Linked DNA regions of Homo sapiens: regions 1 and 2 are each linked to region 3. The links are contacts of gene promoters, found by promoter capture Hi-C in human tissues and cell types (Jung and others, 2019). All regions are on one chromosome and are shown on one strand. The core of a region is centred on a gene start or on the middle of the fragment in contact, and the rest is flanking DNA. Distances in the headings are between cores, read along the strand shown.

The links. Contacts are between HindIII fragments. The study calls those that stand out against the background at their distance.
Region 1: a fragment that was not itself captured here is called in contact with the fragment with the promoter of SPRY1 in region 3 in 1 of the 25 tissues and cell types used here (dorsolateral prefrontal cortex).
Region 2: a contact is called between a fragment that was not itself captured here and the fragment with the promoter of SPRY1 in region 3, in 2 of the 25 tissues and cell types used here (dorsolateral prefrontal cortex and spleen).

The regions. Positions count from the first base shown.
Region 1 is chr4:123,142,862-123,146,075 of GRCh38, reverse strand. The region is part of intron 14 of AFG2A (AAA ATPase AFG2A); the gene reads right to left. Among named protein-coding and RNA genes, the nearest start is that of AFG2A, 220 kb to the right of the region's middle. The HindIII fragment of the contact is 5,799 bases long and covers 1-3,214 here.
Region 2 is chr4:123,235,610-123,238,853 of GRCh38, reverse strand. The region is part of intron 14 of AFG2A (AAA ATPase AFG2A); the gene reads right to left. Among named protein-coding and RNA genes, the nearest start is that of SPRY1, 160 kb to the left of the region's middle. The HindIII fragment of the contact is 3,538 bases long and covers 1-3,244 here.
Region 3 is chr4:123,395,284-123,398,497 of GRCh38, reverse strand. SPRY1 (sprouty RTK signaling antagonist 1) reads right to left here and starts at 1,703. Exons shown (of 3, transcript NM_001258038.2): 1 at 1,566-1,703; 2 at 642-887. RefSeq lists a silencer at 1-268. The HindIII fragment of the contact is 12,155 bases long and covers 1-3,214 here.

The DNA.
Region 1 (3,214 bases), core at 461-2,960, 250 kb after region 3:
AAATCTGTCAGTCTAATTCATGACAGCAAATCAATCTCTTTCTGTTGGCATTTATCACATGTGTTAACAGGATTCTAGACATTAAATTTGCATTAGAAGTACAAATATGTTCTAAATTGTTCTGAAGTACTGCTATAAGTATTCAGAGTATACACAACCTCCAAAAAGAAAAAATAATCCAAAGATTAAGAAATAACATAAAAATACATTAAATTACTGTTAATTAAACTTTAAAAGTTCGTAGTCCAGTTTTCAGTAATTAGGATGCCACTCTCAAGTAGACATATTATTCTTTAACCAATATACCAAAAGGATATACCTCATTGGGGATCAGTTTCCTAATCTATAAAATGAGTAAATATTTGGAAGAGAATTTTATGTAGTGAATTCTCAAGGAATGATACTAACATTTTTCACTTTTGTTATTATCGTTTGGAAACTGTTAATGTCACCGGCTTTGGATTTAAACAGATTTAATACTAGTATATAAACTACTGACTACTAACTTTGTGGAAGTTTTAAATTCCCTAAACTTCAGATTCCCCTCATGTAAAAGGAAGAGATAATGAAAAGTGCTTAACATATTAGCAGATTGAAAGTGCATTATTTGCTACTATTATTAGGTGTGCAGTAATCTAATTGCTTAATTTGTCATATAACCAGTGAGTTTTATCTGAAGGACTCCTGTGTAATTTACAAGATGAAATGAAGAAACTGAAGCCAACTTTAAGGCTTTTATGTCTTTTACTCTGTATGTTCCTCTTCCCTGATGTATCTGTCCACAGTTTTCAGTTTCATTCAAAAATTGGGCAACTGAGTAAAAGAGCTGGCCCATGTATGCAAGTTCCATCAGTGTGGCCAGGTAAAATTATTCTCCAAATTGAAAAATGAGTAATAGAAATGGTAAGAAAAATAATTATTAATTATTTTTTAAAAATTAACTCTATGCAAGGCACAGCCTCTAGAACCACCACAGGAAGAGAGTGAATCTCTGCCTTTTAGAAGCTTCCAATTTCGGGATAAACAAAAAGATAAACAGCAATGTAAAGTCATATGCATTAAATGCTGAGTGGATCTTCTAGCCTGTATGTTCTAAAGAAAATGGAAAAGAGAAAAAAAATTATTGTCTTAGGAAAATAATTGCTTCCAGTACATTTTCAAAGCCAGTTCCACTTTTCCACAGGTCCATCTACTGAAAGATGAAACCAAAACCAACAGAAGACTACAAGGCCATTCAGAACTATTCATAAACTAGTATGACCAATTTCATCAAGTAATCAAGAAACAAAGTTCAAGTTCCTATGACTCTGAAAATTTTACAACACAGGTTCTTTGAGGTCACTTTTCCTATGTTTCAAAAACTGACTATAAAAACAAGTACTTTTCCCCCAACTTTATTGAGAGAAATGCTTTTGCTTTTAATCATATCTAACATTTAAGACAGGTTAAAGAAAGGAAATATCCCTTTTAATTATGGAGCTTTTTAATTACTGTGTGGTTTACAACAGTCTCACTTACAAGTCATCGTCCTTTCAAAACTAAAGCTAGCATCTCTCTTTATAGTATTATTTACTGGCTTCCCTTGCATCTGGCACCCAGGTCAGTGCATAGCAGATCAAACTATAATCTGAGCTCAGATCACAATGAAACAAAAGCCAAGGAAAGCCCAGTTAGCATTACTATATTACTTACAGCATGTAAATAAGCTGAATTAGATAATTTACATTTTATCCTTACATTAATTGAACTTTGCTGTGCAAGCCAGAAAGGTATCTATTAGAAAAAAATATTAAAAGCAAATGAAGCCAACAGATATATAGAGCTAAACAATGAGAACACGCTCTTTTCAAAATTTCCATCAGATCTATAAGGCAGTATAACAGAAAGAAAATGATTACAGTAATTCCTAGAGCAACTGGAAAAGTTGTCAACCCCATAGGTGTAGATTATTCTTGAGTTTTTCTACCCATTTACTGCCTTTTCCCCAGGTATACCACACAAGTTAATTCATTTATCCACTCACTCAACATCTGTGGAAATACTTCCTAGTACTAAACAAAAAGTCTGGGCTAACGAATACAAAGATGAAAACATTATATAGCATTACGATGAAAACATTATATAGCCCTTACAAAACACCAGTAGTCTGTTGCTGGTGAGGCCTGACTTTCTGACTGAAAAGAAGGAAAAATAGATTTAGCTTTCTAAATGTCCTTTCAGGTTAAAGGAAAAAAAAAAAAAAAAGAGAGAGAAGTTTATGCATATCCCTGAATGAAGTCAAGCTTTGGGTTCAGGAGTATTTTTATTTTCTCCCCCATGTATGAAATTTTAAAATCATTCATCCACCGAGAAATGCAAAGCATTACATTCTATTCTTCATGTTTCCACAGATTGGAGACTAACTTTATTAGTATATAATGCCAATTTATTAACATAATTTCTCCTTATTTCCTCTTAGTAACACTTAAGTCATGCCTTCTTTAAACTCTTGTACCTATATCAGCACAAATACTGTACTTAGTTATTTGCCCGAAAATTGGAAAAGCTCATAAGAAGGTGGGTTACTGACAATGGATAAGAGCCATATATACATCAACCATTGCAAATTCCATCAGATCTTGGAAATCCCTAGAAAGAAAGGCACAGATGTGATATACGTTAATTATCAAATTGTGAAAGAGAAAGTAGATGTTGATAGGTCTCCCAAAAGATTATTTATAGTTAATGTAATAGCGACGACTGCTGAAAACTTGCTGAAATATTTTGTAAAACAGGATTACATTTTTTAACATTAGAATTGAAAGGGAAAAATAAAGCAATTGAAGGTACAACAACTTAAAAATTTTAGTGCTAAAGTCGGGTGTGTATCTTTGATAATCTTTCTTTTTTTTTTCTGGAAAAACTAATAATACAGGGTGAATACCCCTTATCTGAATTGCTTGGGACCAGAGTGTTTCAGATTTCAGATTTTTTTTGGATTTTGTAATATTTGCATTATACATACTTACTGGTTTAGGGTTGAGCATCCCAAACCTTAAAATCCAAAATCCTAAATGCTCCAATGAGCATTTCCTTCAAGCATTATGTTAGAACTCAAAAGTTTCAAATTTTGGAGCATTTCAGGTCTTGAATTTTCCAACTTAGAATGCTCACCCTGTAATAGCTATTGCGTCTCAAGGCCTCACTTTACAACAAATTGTAAGCCAAATGATTC
Region 2 (3,244 bases), core at 510-3,009, 160 kb after region 3:
CTTCTGTCAGCTCGTCAAAGTCATTCTCCATCCAGCTTTGTTCTGTTGCTGGCAAGGAGCTGTGATCCTTTGGAGGAGAAGAGGCGCTCTGGTTTTTAGAATTTTCAGCTTTTCTGTTCTGGTTTCTCCCCATCTTTGTGGTTTTATCTACCTTTGGTCTTTGATGTTGGTGACCTACAGATGGGGTTTTTGTGTGGAAGTCCTTTCTGTTGATGTTGATGCTATTCCTTTTGGTTTGTTAGTTTTTCTTCTAACAGTCAGGTCCCTAAGCAACAGGTCTGTTGGAGTTTGCTGGAGGTCCACTCCAGACCCTGTTTGCCTGGGTATCACCAGCGGAGGCTGCCGAGCAGCAAATATTACTGCCTGATCCTTCCTCTGGAAACTTCATCGCAGAGGGAAACCCGCCTGTATGAGGTGTCTGTCAGCCCCTACTGGGAGATGTCTCCCAGTTAGGCTACATGGGGGTCAGGGACCCACTTGAGGAGGCAGTCTGTCCGTTCTCAGAGCTCAAATGCCGTGCTGGGAGAACCACTGCTGTCTTCAGAGCTGTCACACAGGGACGTTTAAGTCTGCAGAAGTTACTGCTGCCTTTTGTTCAGCTATGCCCTGTCTACAGAGGTACAGTTCATGGAGGCAGTAGGCCTTCCTGAGCTGCAGTGGGCTCCACCCAGTTTGAGCTTCCTGGCCACTTTGTTTACCTACTTAAGCTTCAGCAATGGCGGATGCCCCTCCCCCTGCCAGGCTGCAGCCTCGCAGGTCGATCTCAAACTGCTGCACTAGCAGCAAGCAAGGCTCCGTGGGTGTTGGATCTGCCAAGCCAGGCACGGGAGAGAATCTCCTTGTCTGCCAGTTGTTAAGACCATGGGAAAAGCGCAGTATTTGGGCAGGAGTGTAGCGATATTCCAGGTACTGTCTGTCATGGCTTCCCTTGGCTAGGAGAGGGAAATCCCACAACCCCTTCCAGTTCCTGGGTGAGGCAATGCCCCACCCTATTTCAGTTCACTCTCCGTGGGCTGCACCCACTGTCCAACCAGTCCCAATGAGATGAACTAGTCACCCCAGTTGGAAACGCAGAAATCACCCAACTTCTGTGTCGATCATGCTGGGAGCTGCAGACCAGAGCTGTTCCTATTTGGCCCTCTTGGAATGGAACTCCTTTTTTTTTTTTTTTTTTTTTTTTTGAGACAAGGTTTCACTCTGTCGCCCAGGCTGGAGTGCAGTGGCATGATCTCAGCTCACTGCAACCTCCACCTCCTAGGTTCAAGCGATTCTCATGCCTCAACCTCCCAAGTAGTTGTGATTACAGGCAGGCACCACCACACCTGGCTAATTTTTGTACTTTTAGTAGAGACACAGTTTCACCATGTTGGCCAGGCTGGTCTTGAACTCCTGGCCTCAAGTGGCGTCACTATGATCTCCTCCCAAAGTGCTGGGATTATAGCCATCATGCCCAGCCCGTAATTGAATTTTAATATGGTAGTTTTCCACCTTTACTTCAAACAACTAGAAACATCTCAGGTTTAGAACACAGTCTAACAGCACCTTTGAGGCACATGGCAGGGACTGTACCCCCCTCTGTAGGGTTTGGCAAACTACAATCTGTCCCACCAGCTGTTTTTATAAATGAAGTGTTAGAACATGGCCCTGTTCAGCCATTTGCATATTATCTATGGCTATTTCCATTCTAAGTCAGCAAAGTTGAGTAGCTACAAGGAATAACAGATGTAGCCTATAAAGTCTAAAATATTTACCATCTGGCCTTTTACAGGAAAACTTTCTAAATACTTTAGAGTAGTGGTTTTTAACCTTCACTGTGCATCACAATCACTTGGTGAACTTTAAGAACCTAGGTTACCTCCACCTCCTTGCTCCAGTGACAATCAATCAGTCTAGGTCCAGGCAAATTATTTTCTTCGATTCTAATGTGCAGTTAAAGTTAAACCAATTTTCAGGGTTTCTCAAACCTCAATGTGCACAGGAATCATCTGGCTTATCTGCTCATCTAGAAGAATCTTGTTCCCCATTTACATCCCATTTGGTCTGGAGGGAGAGGTCAGACCCTGCATGTTTAATAAGCTTGCCAGCTGACTCTGACAGAGAAAGTTCCTAGACTAGACTTTGAGAGATATGGCTTGTACAAGTTAGTTTAAAAAAGCCTCATAGGTGAACGTGGACAGTCCCTTACCTCATAAATGAATCAAATCACTCTAAGTGCTCTTAAGCCTTAGCTTTCTCATCTGTAAAGTGGAACTCTATGTCTTTGCTATGAGATGCACTATTTTTGTCATTTTAATTCTGTGGCAGAATGTAAGACAATATATCTTTGGGAAGATTCAGATTATAACTTACATGGTGGCCTCATAAAAATTTAAATAATTAAAACATAATAAGCAAATATCACACAGCAAAGAGATAATGCAGATGCCATCATTTTAACACTATTTCAAGCGTTAAAAAACAAGACGTAACTATGTAATTAAGAATTGCACCAATGACTTTTGAAGCCAAACCTAGAAAATGAAGGGTTTACAGAAAGCTTATCATAAACTGCAATGATGACACAGTGGCTTATGGGTTGGAATGTATATGTAGCTACATCCCTTTCACATCCAGAAGATCTCAGTTACCTAAAGGTTCTTGAATGCGTTTAGGGAAAACAGTATCTATGAAGCCTTGAAACTGTAGGCTAAATTTTACGTGTAAAAATTTTGTATTTGTATTTTCAGGAGAGTGTATCTATCAGATTCCCCCCAAAAATACATTACCCAAAGGAGGTGGGGGCATTTACTCCTAGGTATCTATGTACTAACACATGGGTCATATCAACCCATTATGAGAACTTCTTAGAGAGAAAGAAGTTCATTTTGAGTTATTTTCAAATACTGGTAACTCTGCTTTAAAATGTATCCACTTAAGAAAGAAATTTATTGATTTTCCTTTATTTGTGGTATTTTCTAAGCAGAATAGTTAAAAAATATAATTTCCTCACTTCCGTGGAGGTAACAATATTTATAACAAAAAGTTTAAAATCTATTAGAAAAGCCCAGTTGCACTGCTGTTAAACATAAGCAGAAAAGGAATTTGGTTATTCTGTGGGAATGTGGTTTTGTAGTCCCTGGGCACTGAGAACAGCAGTATTTTCTTCCATGGTGAAGTCCAAATATGAGTACTGAAAAGGAATGATTTATTTGACATCTCTCAGGTATTTGATTATTCAGTCACACCAAGTAGTTGACATAGTCAG
Region 3 (3,214 bases), core at 454-2,953:
GCCGGGGGCCAAGCCGTGCGACCCGGCCCAGGTCCTGGTGCGGGCGGCGGCGTGCACGTGCCGCATCAACCGCGGCGGGGAGGGCGAGGCGGCATCGCCGGAGTTGGAGCGCCTCGGCTCGCGGCCTCCCCCGCCCCCGCCGCCACCGGCCAGGAGCGCTCCCCGCGGCCCCCTTCCGGCTGCGGAGGGCAGTTCTCCCGCGGCTCCGCGCGGCCGGGCCCGGACCTGTCACGGCTGGTGCTCGCCGGGCGGCTCAGTAACATCCACCTCGGGAGGTCTTCTGCAGCCCCTTTCCAAGAACCAGTTTTTACAAATCCTTTCAGGAAGGCTTCCCAAGTCTCAGAAAAACAAGTAGGGGAGTGGCGGAGTCGAGTGCGTGACGGGCCAGCTGACGGCACGGTGTGCTCAGAGAACTCGGGTTCTAGTCGCTCCTCGCAAGGAACGAAGGAAGGGATGGCGGCTTCCTGACGAGCGAAAAATCCACGTCACGGGCGTTCGAGACTCCGCAGCGCCCGGGTCGGGGCCCGAACCGCCGTCGGCGGGTGGGTCACGGAGCCGCGCAGTACCCCGGCGAAACCTCGGAGCACGCGCCTGCCAGGCAGAGGCTGCCGCGGCCGGGAGGGGGAGGGGGATTTTTTTACCCTTTTCTTTTTTTTTTTTTTTTTAGCGGGGAGGAGTGAAGAGAGTGAGGTTTGGGGATCCTTCTCGGAGAGAGAAAGGCGGGCGTCGTCCCTTGTGCCCCGCGCAGGCCGACGCGCTTAGCCGATTCCGCACGTTGGGCAAGTGGGGGCACAGCGTCCCCGGGCACTCCGGTCCCGGCAGGTCAGCCTCTCCCGGGCAGCGCTCACACCCAGTCCTCCGAGCCTGGGGTTCCACGGCCGAAATGCCTGCGACAGAGAATTAGAGATAGAAGCTCGTGAATGTCCCTTTCTTCGAAGGGCTGGGACCCCGGGCGGGCCGCTGGCCAGCTCGCCCGCAGCCCGTTGCCATGTGCTCCCTGTTGCTGCTCCCGGTGATTGACAGGCCGGCGCACAGTCGGCGTGTCAGCCGCGAACCAAAGTAACATGCAGTCCTGCACGTTTTTGCCGAGGTGCTTTTGCCCCCTGGAATGCCTAGGAGTTCAAACAACGTTCAAGCAACGCCTCTGCGCGTTAGGAATCAATACACAGAGACGGGAAATTCAGGTTTTAAACCAATGCTTCACTCGGGATTCGGTCGCCAACAATGCCTAAACAAACACGCATTTGGTCCACACACCGAGTGCTAGCCCCTCTTCGCATAAAGGCATTAACGGCTCTGTGTTTCACAAATTCGATCGTTTCAGACTTTAAACGTCTACTGTTCGGTTAAGGAAAGGTGAAAGGGACCCTGCTTTTTCTTTTAGCGGTAGCATTTACTTTAAGAGCATTAGTTTTAGCAGTGGGAATGCTACCGGTGTTTTGAAATGCAACCAGTAACCTTAGCTGGAAAGCAAGTTCAAATAAATAAATGTTCAGTTCCTTGCAAAAGTCAACATTTCTCACCTTATCTTTCCTAAAATGTCTACGGAAGGAAACGGTACTTACCTAATGCAAAGATTGCAAATTGCTTTTCAGGCACATTTAACAGCGACTGTAGCTGTTCCTTATCCAGGGCAGGGAACTGTGCTGATAATCACTCTGCAAAGCACGCAGTGGTTTGCAGAGCGGTCTCACTCCGGCTACGCAGAATTTCAGCTCCTTGCCTCCACCTCCACCTCCACTCCAGGACACGCCTCCGGTGATATCATGTGTCAATCACTCGGGCTGCCCGAAAACCTGGAACAGGATTTCCTTAACTATCGTTTCCTCTTTCGTTTATGTGTACCAACTTGGAAATGTTGCCCTACAGACTCGTGTAATAAACATCCTCTTAAAACTTCGGGAGTGCCTCTAAAAATTCTGCAAATGCAGTTTGTCATAGAGGAATACATTCGGATTTAGTTAGCAATCTTCAGTTGTCGATCTCAATTAAAAGGATTGGTGGACTCTACTCTTAAGTTGAATTAGAAAAGAATTGTGAAGAATAAAAGAAAATGAAAAAAGTTGTATGCCAAGCCATCACTTCTGACCAACTAGAGGGAAAACGTATATTGACACAAAAAGATGATTATATAACATTACAGTTCCTATTTACAACAAAGTTCAGAATATGTGAAACCTAAAGTTCAAAAGGTGGCACTCCTTACTGCAAATGTAATATAAGCATATGTAATAAAGGTGAAATTTTCTGCTGTGGGTTTTTTAAATAATTGCTTTACCTTGGCTTGTTATATGATTTCCCAAAAATCAAGCACATGGAGAAAAAACCAAATTCTTTCAATTTTGTAATATAGTTGTATAATTTTGCAAAAAATACAAACCCGTATATTTTTTAATTAGCTAAAAGTCAATTAATTAGAATAGAAAAAATTTATCAAGAAGTTTTATAATTCTTAGTAATAGCTGATATGACTGGAAAAAAAACACTTTAAGTAGGAAACTTGATTTCTACTTTCTTACAAACTATGGGATTTTAGGCATTTATTATCAAAGTTGTGCCTTTTCATGCTGCAGTGAGGATAACTTTTTGTGGAATTGAAGGTTCCGTAGAAACTTTTAAAAGCCACCTAAAGACCAAAAACTTAGTGGAAAGGAAATATTTTTCCAGGTACTATATATCAGGAGTAGCTTAAAGTCTGGCAAAACAAAGCAAACAATAACAAAACTCTAGAATCTAAATCATATAAACATATAAGTATGGAAATTTTTAGTTCAAAGTACATTTTTAGTCTCATTTACAATAGCAAGTGGTTCTGTTGAAACTATAAATATATACATACATAACACACACGCACACACACAGGACTTTCAAATGTCTGAGCACTTTCAAAAATTAAAGTTGTGTTTGGAATTGCCTCTGAAGAACACAGAGCATTGTTAAGAACATGAATAACAATAAAAAAGCATCATTAGAAAATAGCATAGAATAAGAATCAAGCCAAAAAGCTACATATTCACTCTTAATATTATGAATTGTATTAAAATAGGCTATTTAAAAGAATAAAATTGATTTCATTGTATTTTTTTCATAGATCTCATTAGATTTGGGGATGTAATGAAATTTTACTAGTGATGGATAGGTTTCTTGTGAATGTATTTGGAATAGACAAATCAAAAATAGACTATCCTATCAGAGTATCTTATTTGGTTCTTCA